Linked DNA regions of Homo sapiens: all the other regions are linked to region 4. The links are contacts of gene promoters, found by promoter capture Hi-C in blood cells and fetal thymus (Javierre and others, 2016). All regions are on one chromosome and are shown on one strand. Each heading gives the region's core, a stretch centred on a gene start or on the middle of the fragment in contact. The rest is flanking DNA. Distances are from core to core; before and after follow the strand shown.

Region 1 (3,104 bases), core at 584-3,083, 380 kb before region 4:
TTTGACATGGAGTCTCACTCTGTTGCCCAGGCTGGAGTGCAGTGGCATGATCTTGGCTCACTGCAACCTCCACCTCCTGATTTTGAGCGATTCTCCTGTCACAGCCTCCTGAGTAGCTAGGACTATAGGGGCGGGCCACCACACCTGGCTAATTTTTGTATTTTTAGTAGAGACAGGGTTTCACCATGCTGGCCAGGATGGTCTCCAACTCCTGACCTCAAGTGATCCACACCCCTTGGCCTCCCAAATTGCTGGGATTACAGGCGTGAGCCATTGCGCCCAGCCGTTTGTTTTAATAAGCTTTTTTTTCCCATTTTTAAAAGGCTCAATTTCTCCACAAGACAGAATGTTAGTGCCGTTTTTAGATCTGACCAACGAAGATGCTCCTGATTTCAGAACTGCAGATGACTGGGCAGTATTCCTTCATTTCGGGACTGACTGGAGGTGGGAAATATGGCACCTTCTCAGGGAACCCAGTCTCATCCTAGCCTCAAGCTGCCCTCGACAGGTCGAGACAAGCACATCCTACCTCATTACACAGGAAGCCCTTTCCCAGCTAGGTCCTCTCACGCTCCCCAAGTCCAATCCTGATGACTACATGACCCTGAGACAGCCAGTGTAGGATGTGGAGAGGTTCCAACACCAGCTCTTCCACTCGGAGCAAGTTAGTTTATACACCTTGGTTTTGAGCATCTGGAAACCCTCACCTCTCAAGCAGGAATGGGGAGCAAAGGTTAGTTTCTTCTCTCACCATCTGCCACCGTCCCTCAGAGGCCTCCCTACCTTCACTGAAATCAGGAGGCGGCCAAAGATGGTGAGGGCCAGGTTAAAAGTGGACTGGGAGAAGTAAAAGGTGTTCTGAAGCCGCAGGAGCCACAGCACGACTTCCTCGAAGGCGTCGCAGATTTCATCCTGCTAGGAAGAAGAGCAGGTGGGGCGAGGAAGGTCGCTAGCGGCCACTCCTGGTCCCCCAGCAGCAGGAGCCTCCTGCTTAAGGTGCGGGGGGTGGGGCAGTGAGAAGTCCCTTCCTCTGCATGCCCGCTGGGAGTAAGCGCCCCCCGGCGCAGCGGCTCACCCATCACCCCCACCCCTCGCGCCCACTTTTCGTCGTAGGCTGAGTTCCTTGATTCAAACAGGCCCTCTTCCGAAGGCCCTGCTAGCAAGACGCCCTCCTAGAGAGAAGCTGGTGGATCCAGCCTCGTGCCTCTCGTGAGGGGCCACACCTGGGGAAGGGCCCGGCCTCCAGTTTCAGAACACCCGAGCGCGGGTGCAGGTGGAGGCCACATCCGCCTGCCGTGCACGCGCGAGGAGGGCCACGCGGCAGCGACGGGTACCTGGGGTTTGCCGCCCCGCCACAGGCGCGCCTCGCGGTCCTGGGCCAGCTGCAAGTGGCAGAGCAGCCGGCGCTCGTCCAGGTCGCCTTCCAGGTTGCGCGGCTTGCGGGACTGTGGAGCCGGCCGCGGAGCTTGCTCTGGGGCGGCGGCGGGGACCGCGTCTGCGGTTTTCCCGGCTGGCGCCGTACCGCGCCGGGGCCGCACGGGGACTGCTGCGGACGCCGCGTGGAGGGAGGCCGCTCCGGGCTGGCGGGTCCCAGGGCACCTGCTCCGGTTGCTTCGGGGCAGAGGGGCCTCCCCCGGAGACGGCGGGAGAGGAACGCCCAGGGCTGTTTCCTCCAGACCGGCGCCGGGACGCCCGCCTGGGCTCTGGACGGCGCTGACCTCTGAGCTCGACGGCTGCGGCGGGAGCTGAGCGCCCGAGGCCATGTCGTGAGCGGGATCCTGAGTCTGAGTTGCCGCTTAACCCGGCATTTTATAACCCAGCTCCCGGAACACTGCAGCCTGGGGCGCCGCCGGGGGAGGTGGGGAGGCGGGCTCGGCGGGCCCCACCCACAACGCTCGCGGTGGAGCTACCTCTGGCGCACCGGGCCGCGCCTCGCCTCCTGGGCACTCGCCCCGCGGGTGGGCGGCGCGCACCCAGGATGCGGCAGGACTGGGCGCGCACAGGCGGGTGGCGGACCCCCTCCCTTCCCTCCATCCCCGCTGCTGCCTAGCGCACGCCTCCTCCCCCCTGCCGGCCGTGCTCCCTGAGCAGAGCCCCCAGCCAGGGGTGGGGCGGCTGGAGACTGCGCCCGCCTTGGGCCAGGACTCCCGGACACAGACCCTGGGTCTTACCTCACATTACACACTTGGGGACACAAGACCAGGTAAAGAAGCAGCGAGAGCGCCCTCCTCAGACAGGCTTGAAATGGAATTCCAGACGCGCTGTGTGATCTCATGCATGTGTCGTGACCTCTCAGAGCCTTGGCTACCTCTTCTCCGAAAAAAAAAGTGATAATACCTCCCTCACAAGGTGATTCATTCATATACATATATGTTTATGTATCTATACATACATATATAGCTATAAACGTATAATAAGGAAAATCATACAAATCATATATATGTATACACATACATACATAAATTTTAGGGGTGGATCTTGCTATGTTGCCCAAGCTGGAGTGCAGTGGCTATTCTCAGGTGTGATCGCAGCACACTACAACCTCAAACTCCTGGACTCAAGCTACCCTCAACCTCAGCTTCTCAAGTAGCTGAGACTTACAGGTGCACACCACCACACCTGGCTCCTAAGTTATATTTTGTTTAAAAAATTCATTACATTAAATGTATATTAAAAATATATGGGAATACCAGAAGGACAAGAAAGAGAGGAACAGAAGAAATATTTGAAACAATAACGACTGAGAATGAATATTTCCAAATTAATGCCAAACACCAAACCACAATTCTAGGAAGCTCTGAGAACATTAAGCAAGATAAATGCCAAGAACTACACCTAGACATTCCTATTTAAACCGTAGAAAATCAAAAGAAACTATCAACAGAGTCAGCAGACAACCTATAGAGTGGGAGAAAAGTATTAGCAAAGTAAGCATTCGACAAAGGTCTTAATATCCAGAATCTGTAAGGAATTTAATTAAACAAGCAAAAAACAACCCCATCAAAAAACAGGCAAAAAGACATGAATAGACTTCTCAAAGGGAGATATACAAGTGGTCAACAAACATGAAAAAATGCTCCACATCACTAATCATCAGAGTAATG
Region 2 (3,127 bases), core at 123-2,622, 300 kb before region 4:
AGTTTGCATGGAAAGCAGGTAGTTAGGAGACCACTGTGAAATTGAGGCTTTGGGGCTTTCATTCTCAGCCGTGTGTTTCCATGAAAACAGGAACTGAAATGCACAAAACTATTGATACGGCTGTAGTCATGTGTTTGTCAGAGAAAATGCACTATCAGCTGTCAAATCTATCTCCTCCCACTACAGATAGAGGGGTGGGGGTGAGGCAGCACAGGAGGCAGAGAGGCGAGGTGCCCAGGCAGCCCGAAGCAGGGATGTGCTGGACGCTGCCCAGCAGGATGGTTCCAGACCGAGCTGGAGGGGAGTTCGGCCGGCCAGAGCAAGCTGAGGAGCTCTGGACGGCCAGCCCCGGAACCCAGAGGGCTGTTAGGTGGCCAGGCTGTGGAAGAGGAGGGGCTCTGGCGATACCTTTTCTGTTGCCATAGGAAGTCTCTTAGACAAAATGAAAGCTCCCTCAACCTGTCATCTCAATATCTGTTTCTGTGAGAGTATTTGGTTTTTCAGAAATGTATGGGCCAGAAAAATTCTCTCATTCAACAGGCATTTATTGAGTGCCTCCTACGTTCCAGGCACTATGCCAAAGCTAAGTAAAACCCAAGAGGGCTTTTCTTTGACCAGGATCTGAGTCAGGACTACAGCATGTAAGCTTTCTATTACATGTCTTCTAAATCAAGTGAAACCAGAAAGACCAAAACATGCTTAAGAGTAAAGATCAGACTTCTCGTTCTTTGAAAACATCTAACACCTTAGAGTTAATTTGGGCCCGCTCGTTTTCCATTAGACAAGTTTCTTGTTCAGACATTTGGGGATGGATCTCCCCATTTGCTAAAACAGACCGTGGGACGGCTTCTTACCTTGGAGGCAGCAAAGATGTCTGTTACGGTCAACTCGGTGCACAGAGTCTTGGTCCAGGCAGAAATGAGAGAGCAAGAGACAGAGTTAACCTCCAACCGGACAGAGAAGTCCTTGATGAGCAGCTCTCACTCCCTCCAACTGAGGAAACTTCCTACAAACCCTCAGAAAAAAGAGTGGCAGGGGAGAAGCCTCGCTGTGTGCCCTGGACTGCCACCAACCACCAGTTCCAACTTCTCTAGCAGCTGTTAACGTTTTCATGCCTAGAAATACTGAGAGCATCACCAGAACATCTGGAGAGATGGTGCCAGATAGGTACTCACCTTCTGCTCTGTGAGGCTGTTCAAAGTTTTGATGATCTCCTGTAAGGTGATATCGCACTTGTGTCCGTGGACAAAGTTGCCGGCACATGCTAGCAGGAAGAACAGAGGGGGAAGCAGTTGGGAGGTGAGACCCATTAATAGGTGTCGATTTGCAGTGACAATGTGAGGCAATTAGTTTATCAGGAGAAGCTAACGATGCAATGCTGACAAAGATATCTCTATATATAGATTTAAAATTGCTGAAACCGAGGGAAAATGAGTTTACATTGGAAATTTTCGTTACACCAGATTGTCAGTCACTTGGGGCCAATCAGCACCTCTCTTCCAGGAGAAAAAATGCCTCACAAACAGGTAAAATGTTCCTGTGAAATCAGACCAATAGGAAAATGAAACCTTTTTAAAAAATTAACTACAAAGTTTCAGCATAGGAAATTACACCATAATTTGCTCTTTAGATTAATCTTATCAGCTTGGGGCTGCTGCTGGCTTTTTGCTTTGCATAGAAGGGAGAGGCCACAGGTGTCCGAATTTGTTGTAATGCAGTCCTCCTGGGGAAAGATAGAGTAATATCAAGAAAGTTTTACTTGAAAAGTATTTTAACCTGGCTTCTTCCAAGTACAGGTGGCATCTTGGAAACTGTCCTGTCATGGAAAAGCTGATCTGGGGCTCCTTCTCTGCATAGAGGCAGAATAACAGGCAGACTCTCCTACCCCAGCACTGGGGGACAATGTTCTCCCAAGTTTAGGTGTTTTGAGAAGGACAGGTCGTATCAGGTGAGGCCTAGTTTGGGTCCCAGCAGGTCCATAAGGTCCTTACCCATAAGGAAGCCCTTGGCAAGGTAGGTCTATTCTGAGGTTTCAGGAATGACTTTTTTTTTTTTTTTTCTGAGACAGGGTCTCACTCTGTCACCCAGGCTGAAATGCAATGTTGTGATCAGGGATCACTGCAGCCTCAACCTCCCAGGCTCAAGTGATCCTCCCACCTCAGCCCCCCTAGCAGTAGGTGCGTGCCACCGCACCATGCCTGGCTCATTTTTATTTTTATTTTTTGATAGAGATAAGAGTCTCACTATGTTGCCTAGGCTCATCTCAAATTCCTGGGCTCAAGTGATCCTCCTACCTCAGTCTCCCAAAGCTCTGAGATTACAGGTGTGAGCCACCATGCCTGGCCAGGAATGCCCACTTTTTGAATGGAACCTAAACACATCCTCAGCTAATTAGGAAAAAGAGCTACAGTCTTACCAACTTACAAATCAGCCCTCCTAGTCAGTGCCCCACCACCCGCCCTGCTTGTTTTTTATTGAATTCATGTGGACACAATAAGGTGCTCATTGCCTCACCCCAGCAGTGAACGTAAGGACCCCACCACTCACTCAGGTGCCTGGGCCCTGTGCAAGGCCACCCCACCTCCCAGTAAGGGCTCATGGGCAGCAGGATTCTTGGGCCCTGCCTGCCCCCTGCTTTTCTCCCAGAACCTTCCCTTCCCTTGGTCTCTGACCTTCTTTTCCCTATGAATTTCTTTTTTTTTTTTTTTTTTTTGAGATGGAATCTTGCTCTGTCACCCAGGCTGGAGTGCAGTGGCGTGATCTTAGTTCACTGCAAGCTCCGCCTCCTGGGTTCATGCCGTTCTCCTGCCTCAGCCTCCCCGAGTAGCTGGGACTACAGGCACCTGCCACCACGCCCGGCTAATTTTTTGTATTTTTAGTAGAGACGGGGTTTCACCGTGTTAGCCAGGATGGTCTCCATCTCCTGACCTCGTGATCCGCCTGCCTCGGCCTCCCAAAGTGCTGGGATTACAGGCGTGAGCCACTGTGCCTGGGCCTCCCTATGAATTTATTCTGGAAGATCATCTAAAAATGTGTGTTGCTAAGGTTTTGCCTCTGTTCCACTTCCCCGCCCCCCCCTCACCACCCCCTGCCCCCATACTCTGTCACCCAGGCTGGAGTGCAGTGG
Region 3 (2,921 bases), core at 181-2,680, 290 kb before region 4:
TTTCCAGGTCTCCACTGAGAGATCCAGAAAGATTCAGAGGTCTTTCTGGGAGCTTTTTTGGTGTTTTTTTGTTTTGTTTTGTTTTGTTTTTTTGGAGATGGGGTCTCACTATGTTGCCTGCCTAGGCTGGCCTCCAACTCCCAGACTCAAGCGATCCCCCCACCTCAGCTTCCAGAGTGGCTGGAAGTAGTGTGCACGTGTCTGGCCCCTTTAATTTAAAGTGTATGGGCCATCCTTCTGGGAAACTCTTAACTGGGCCAGGCTGGCAGCCTTAGTCCAGGTCAGAGATTGTAAGTGTTCCTAGTGCCACTGGGGCTTGGGGTGATCCCCTTTGCTCACCAGTCTCTGCAGGATCAACCCCTGCCGTCTGGGGGCCTCAAATTTCCCTTCTGCAGAATGAGTGCTGTGGAGGGCGGCTCCTGGGCTTGGCCCCTGCAGCCATGTCGCCTTTTCCTGCTCTTCCCTCGTTTTCCTAGAAGTCCTCCAGAAACCCCCACAGCAGAGGCCACGGCATTTGCCTGTTGGGTGTTGATGTCAAGATTTCTCCCCTACCCACTTCCTCCCCGAACCAGCGCCTCCCCAGGCCCCCTCTCTGCCTGCTCAGGCTCCCTCCGTCCTGTCCTCGATGGGGCTCAACCTCCTCACAAGGGTGTGCTTGTGACCCTCCTCACAAGGCATGCTGGATTCCCGCTCAGAGGCATCCCAGGCTTGCCCACCCTCTCTTCCCACAGGGAACGTCATTCCCACCCTCTCTGTCCACACTCGAAGCTTCCCAGCCCAGCTGCTGGCTCTGACTCCCAGAAGTCTGCCCCTTCCCCTCGAGGGCCCCCAGTGCCTGGAGTGCCGCTACTTGGCCGTGTGACCCCTCTACGGGCCTGTTTCCTAATCTGTAGTAGAGGGCCCACGGCATCTCCCACAGGGTCTCCGTGATGGGGGAAGGAGCGGGGAACTACCTTGGTCTGTGCAACTCCCGGAGCCCCGCCCGGGTGAGTCAACGCCCCTTATCCCCCATGGCCACCAAAAGCCCTGCCGGGAGCGGTGGGCAGGGGCGCCCCCGCGCGTGGGAGAAGGCGCTGGCGCGGCGGTTGCGGCGGCGATGGCCCGCGGAGATAGGGGGGTGGCCTTATGTAACGGGAGATGGGCCCGATAAGCGGGATCTGCGCGGCCGGGCCCTCCTCCGCGGCCTCCGGCGGTGGCCGGTCCGGGAGGCAGGGGTGGGCGCGCAGACCGGCCAGTCTGGAAGCTGCGGAGGCTGGCGAGGGGGCGGCAAAGGTGGCGGTCCGAGCGCCAGGCAGGGCAAGGGCCGGCTGGACACCCGGGCCAGCGGCTCCCCGAGCGCCGGTGCGCACCGGCGAGGGGCGGGAGCGGCCGAGGGGCCGAGGCGCGCACGTGCCGCTCCAGCACCGGCCATGTCAGGCCGAGGGACCCCGCGGGCCCGGCCGAGCGGCAGCCCCTGCCCTGGAGGGTGGTCTCCAGGGACCAAGGCGTGGCGGGCGGTGCGGAGAGGCGCGGCACAGATGGCTACATCAGAGGGTCTGTTGCTTGTTTCTAGATTGTCAGCGGGGATCCACTCCCGTGCGGGTAATTTTAATTAACACTAACTACCAAAGGGCCGCTCCGGGCACTTGGCGCATGTGGCTCGCACCTGCCTGCAATGCGCTGCGTGGGCCGCCCGCTTATGGCCATGGGGAGCCTCTTCGCTTTGCTCTGGCCCCGAAGCGCTGGGATTGGGACCTCCCTTCCTCCCGACCAGCTCATCCTGGGAAAGCTGGGGTTGCTTTTTCGGGTTTCTCTGGACTCTGGGTCTCCGTTGGCAAAGACATGATGCCCAGTCAGGAGGAGTAAGGCCTGAGAGAGTTGTTTTTGTAAGTGAAAGGATTTAATTTTTTAGATTTTTATTTTTAGGAAAGTTACGAATGCAGATAATTTTAAAAATCAAGAAGGCTGATTATGTAAAACGGCAGCGCTGGGAATCCGTGCTCTATGGGCCTCTGGCATTGCTGCTCCTCTTGTGAGTGAGGCACTTACTGCCCTGCTGTGTCCCTTACTGTCTTTTAAAGGTTGTTTATAGGCCGGGCGCGGTGGCTCACGCCTGTAATCCCAGCACTTTGGGAGGCCGAGATGGGCGGATCACGAGGTCAGGAGATTGAGACCATCCTGGCTAACACGGTGAAACCCCGTCTCTACTAAAAATACAAAAAAATTAGCCGGGCGTGGTGGTGGGCGCCTGTAGTCCCAGCTACCCAGGAGGCTGAGGCAGGAGAATGGCGTGAACCCGGGAGGCGGAGCTTGCAGTGAGCCGAAATCGCGCCACTGCACTTAAGCCTGGGCGACAGTGTGAGACTCCGTCTTAAAAAAAAAAAAAAAAAAAAAAAAAGGTTGTTAAGAAAATCACAAGGAAGGAGGAAAAAATATATTTCCTATTCATTAAGTGGAGGTGGAACATCACAAAGGTCTTCAGCGTCACTGTCTTCACGTTGAGCAGGCCGAGGAGGAAGAAGAGGAGGGGTCGGTCTTGTCATCTCAGGGGTGGCAGAGGCAGGAGAGAATCCGTGGATAAGTGGATCTGTGCAGTTCAGAACCTGCTGTTCAAGGGTCAACTGTGTATGTAAAAAATTCAGTGGAATCTCCACCTTCCCTCACAAGTAACTATTTTTCTTAGGTGTTGTTTTTTTTTTTTTTTGGTATCCTATTAGTTTATGTAAATACAAGCAACTGTGAATATATGGTCTTATTTTCCCTTGTCCCTACATGTGAAGTGGCATCATATACACCTTTTGCACCCTGTTTTTCTCACTTACTATAAAAATAATATATTTTTGTATTCACACTTAGATTGGGACATTTTATGACTTTTCTTCTTTGTTCTCTCTTATTGGAACTGCCATTTTTTTTGACTATATACCTCTTGGACTTGTCCT
Region 4 (3,022 bases), core at 482-2,981:
GAAAATCCAAGGGGATGAGAAATGAGAAAGGCTCCCCTACACCCTATGACCTAAGGCTGTATGCTTTAACTAAATCTGGCCGACAGCCTTGCCTCATAATACCTGAGAAAATATTCCAGGTCAACAAGTCACCCTGAACCCATCTTCAGATGAATGGATCTTAAAGAGTGACAACTGACGGCCTGGCGTGGTGGCTCACGGTTGTAATCCCAGCTTTGGAGGCAGAAGCAGGCAGATCACGAGGTCAAGAGATCGAGACCATCCTGGCCAACACGGTGAAACCCCGTCTCTACTAAAAACACAAAAATTAGCTGGGCGTCGTGGCTCACAGCTACTCGGAGACTGAGGCAGGAGAATCACTTGAGCCCGGAAGGCGAAGATTGCAGTGAGCCAAGAACGCACGACTGCGAAGGTTGCAGTGAGCCAAGAACACACGACTGCGCTCCAGCCTGGTGACAGAGGGAGACTCTGTCTCAAAAAAAAAAAAGACTGACAACTGACCATGGGAAAAGGCAAACAATTACTTACAGGGCATGACCAGATTGTCGTTTTTGGGTTGTGGACGGTAGGGGAAGGAGTAACTAGAGGAAAAAGGGAAGAGGCAGTTGTATACACATGCTTTATTTAACTTTTAAAAGTTCAGGAAAGAGAAGTATTTCTTCTCTTCTAAAAAGAAATCAAGAGACTAGAGGAAAAACGGGATAGCCCCTGGCCCAAGTCCTGGCTCTGCTACTTACCACCCCCAACCCCAACTAGAGTAAGTCCTGGACACACAGGGCCATAGAGCATCGCCCAGGGACCGCCAGGACCTTCCTGGTACCCTCTTCAAAGTGGCCATCAGGACGGGAGGCCAGACTGACCACCTGTGCAGGGAGGAGCACACTGTGGCTGGAGGTCACCTCGTGAAGCGTTCCCAAGCCACCTGGCTGGAGGGTCTCCATCGCTAGGGTGTTGACCGTTGGGGGAGGGGGAGTGACAGCGTCCAGTGCGCATCTGGGAGAGAGGAGCTCGGGTTCAAGGACCGCGACAGGTCCTCCGAGCCCTGGTCTCAGCCCCAGCAGGGGCCGGCACCCACCTCGGTCACAATGGTGGACAGGTAGACGTCCTGACTGAACTCCCAGCCATCCAGACAGCTCTCCTGCTCCAGCTGCCCCAGGTCCACGTCGCGCCCCGGCTCCAGCCCAAGCGCCGAGAAGTTGGCGATGGTGGCGAGCCGGTAGCGGCGGCAGCTGTGGGGCACCTCGCGGCCGTCCCGCAGCCGCAGTGGGACAGTGTGGTTGCGCCAGGCGCTGCTCAGGTTCGCGGCGTCCGGCACCCGGCAGCGGTGCTCCGGGGTCGCTATCAGGAACACGGAGGACAGGCCGGTGAAGCCATTGGGGATGATGCTGGCGCTGAGCAGGAAGAAGATGAGGCGCTGGAAGGGCCCCCACTCGCCCAGGAAGGCGGTCACCTCGTCGTAGTCCCGCATGCCGCCCTCAGAGGCCCACAGAGCGCGGCCTGGGGTCGGGGAACGCGGCGGGCTTTGCGCGTGCGCGCGGGGCACCCGCCGCCGACCAGGCAAGCCAGGCAGCAGGCGACCCAAGACCGTCCGCGGAGGGTAGGCTCGCGAGCTGACACCGCCGCCTTGGTCCTGCCGCGGCTGGCCTTACATAGGGCGCACGACCAGGGAAGGTTGCGGGCCTGGGCCGCAAGGCGCGCCCCGCTGGCAGGCAGAGCGGCGCCGGCGAAGGCGGAGCTGGGGCGGGACGCGAGGGCGCGGGGCGGGCCGGGAGTGCACCTGAGGCCCGGGCGGGGCCTGTCCTGGGGACCTGGCGAGGCCCGGCCTCTGCCAGCCAAGCCTGCTGGGGACGACCGAGGTAGCCCGGGCTCGGCTTAGGAAGGCAGCGGGACTCGAGGCCTTGGGGTCCGAGTCCGAACTCGCTCCTCTAGCGCCGGGCGGGGAGCGAGTGGGAGAGCGGCCGCGAAGCTCCAGTGTTGAAAACGCACCCCTCCCAGCTTTTTGCAAGGCCTACTTGGGGGCGGAGGTAAGGAGAAAGTCACTGGCCCAGGGTCTCACAGATAGTTGCTCTTGACACCGCCTAATCTTATAAGAGGGACGGGGATTATTTTGAACCTGGGACTGTTAACTACCCTAGTAGAGAGGCTGGGAGCTATGACTTTTCATTCTAGTCCAGATGCCCTTTCCACATTTTCGTCTGTAACAAGCCATTTTGTTCATGCAGATGTAAAAATTTAACTTCACGATTAACGATCCTAGCCTAGGGTTAAATATTCCCCACAGATTAGTTATTTCCGTGCAGAGTTTATTCAGAAGCTAACTGGAAAAAAAAAAAAAGCAGCGAGGTGATTCTAAAGCAGCAATGTTCCATAGGATAAGGAGCTACATTTGTTATGTTAACTTTTCTAGTAGCCATATTAATAAAATTGCCAGATTTAGCAAATAAAAATATAGGACTCCTAGTTAAATTTGAATTTCAGATATAGAATGAATAATTTTTAAATATTATGTCCCAAGCAGGAATATATAAAATAAAAATGTAACTGGTTGTCCTGTATTTTATTGGGCAATGCTGCATATTTAAAAAGTAAAAATAAAAGATGAAATTAACTTTAATGGTATATTTAATCAAGTATATCCAGAACATGATCATTTCATCATATAATCAATATAGAAATTATTGATATTTTACATTGTTATATGTAAATCATTGATCTTTTTTTCCCCTCCTCATACTAAATCTTAAGAATTCAGTGTGTTTCACAGGTTCTCAGGATTTGAAAAAAAAAAAAAAAGGAATCCAGTGTGTATTTTACAGCACATTTCAATTTGGACTAGCCACACTTTTTATTTTTTAATATTTATTTATTCATTTATTTATTGGAGACACGGTCCCACTGTGTCACCCAGGCTAGAGTGCAGTGGCACAATCATAGCTCACCGCAGCCCTGAACTCCTAAGCTTAAGTGGGCCTCCTGCCTCAGCCTGCTGAGTAGCTAGGACTACAGGCACATGCCACCGTGC

The links. The method cuts DNA at HindIII sites, captures the fragments that hold promoters and counts their contacts. A CHiCAGO score of 5 or more calls a contact.
Region 1: a contact is called between the fragment with the promoter of CCNI2 here and the fragment with the promoter of SLC22A5 in region 4, in 8 of 17 cell types (monocytes, naive CD8 T cells, activated CD4 T cells and 5 more). The highest score is 10.9, in monocytes.
Region 2: the fragment with the promoter of IL4 here is called in contact with the fragment with the promoter of SLC22A5 in region 4 in 10 of 17 cell types (naive CD8 T cells, monocytes, total CD8 T cells and 7 more); the score reaches 7.6 in naive CD8 T cells.
Region 3: the fragment with the promoter of TH2LCRR here is called in contact with the fragment with the promoter of SLC22A5 in region 4 in 2 of 17 cell types (non-activated CD4 T cells and fetal thymus); the score reaches 6.1 in non-activated CD4 T cells.

The regions. Positions count from the first base shown.
Region 1 is chr5:132,746,155-132,749,258 of GRCh38, reverse strand. It overlaps CCNI2 (cyclin I family member 2), which reads right to left and starts at 1,833. Exons shown (of 6, transcript NM_001039780.4): 1 at 1,335-1,833; 2 at 784-912. The coding sequence starts at 1,763. RefSeq lists silencers at 1,471-1,660, 1,681-1,750, 1,761-2,180 and an enhancer at 2,271-2,350. The HindIII fragment of the contact is 9,894 bases long and covers 303-3,104 here.
Region 2 is chr5:132,672,234-132,675,360 of GRCh38, reverse strand. It overlaps IL4 (interleukin 4), which reads right to left and starts at 1,372. Exons shown (of 4, transcript NM_000589.4): 1 at 1,176-1,372; 2 at 855-902. The coding sequence starts at 1,310. The HindIII fragment of the contact is 7,466 bases long and covers 649-3,127 here.
Region 3 is chr5:132,654,663-132,657,583 of GRCh38, reverse strand. TH2LCRR (T helper type 2 locus control region associated RNA) reads left to right here and starts at 1,430. Exons shown (of 3, transcript NR_132125.1): 1 at 1,430-1,533. It also overlaps a transcript of IL13 not described here. RefSeq lists silencers at 627-686, 767-856, 917-1,206. The HindIII fragment of the contact is 15,561 bases long and covers 771-2,921 here.
Region 4 is chr5:132,368,419-132,371,440 of GRCh38, reverse strand. It overlaps SLC22A5 (solute carrier family 22 member 5), which reads right to left and starts at 1,731. Exons shown (of 10, transcript NM_003060.4): 1 at 1,076-1,731. The coding sequence starts at 1,468. It overlaps MIR3936HG (MIR3936 host gene), which reads left to right and starts at 1,525. Exons shown (of 8, transcript NR_110997.1): 1 at 1,525-1,597. RefSeq lists a silencer at 1,529-1,848. The HindIII fragment of the contact is 8,292 bases long and covers 1-2,961 here.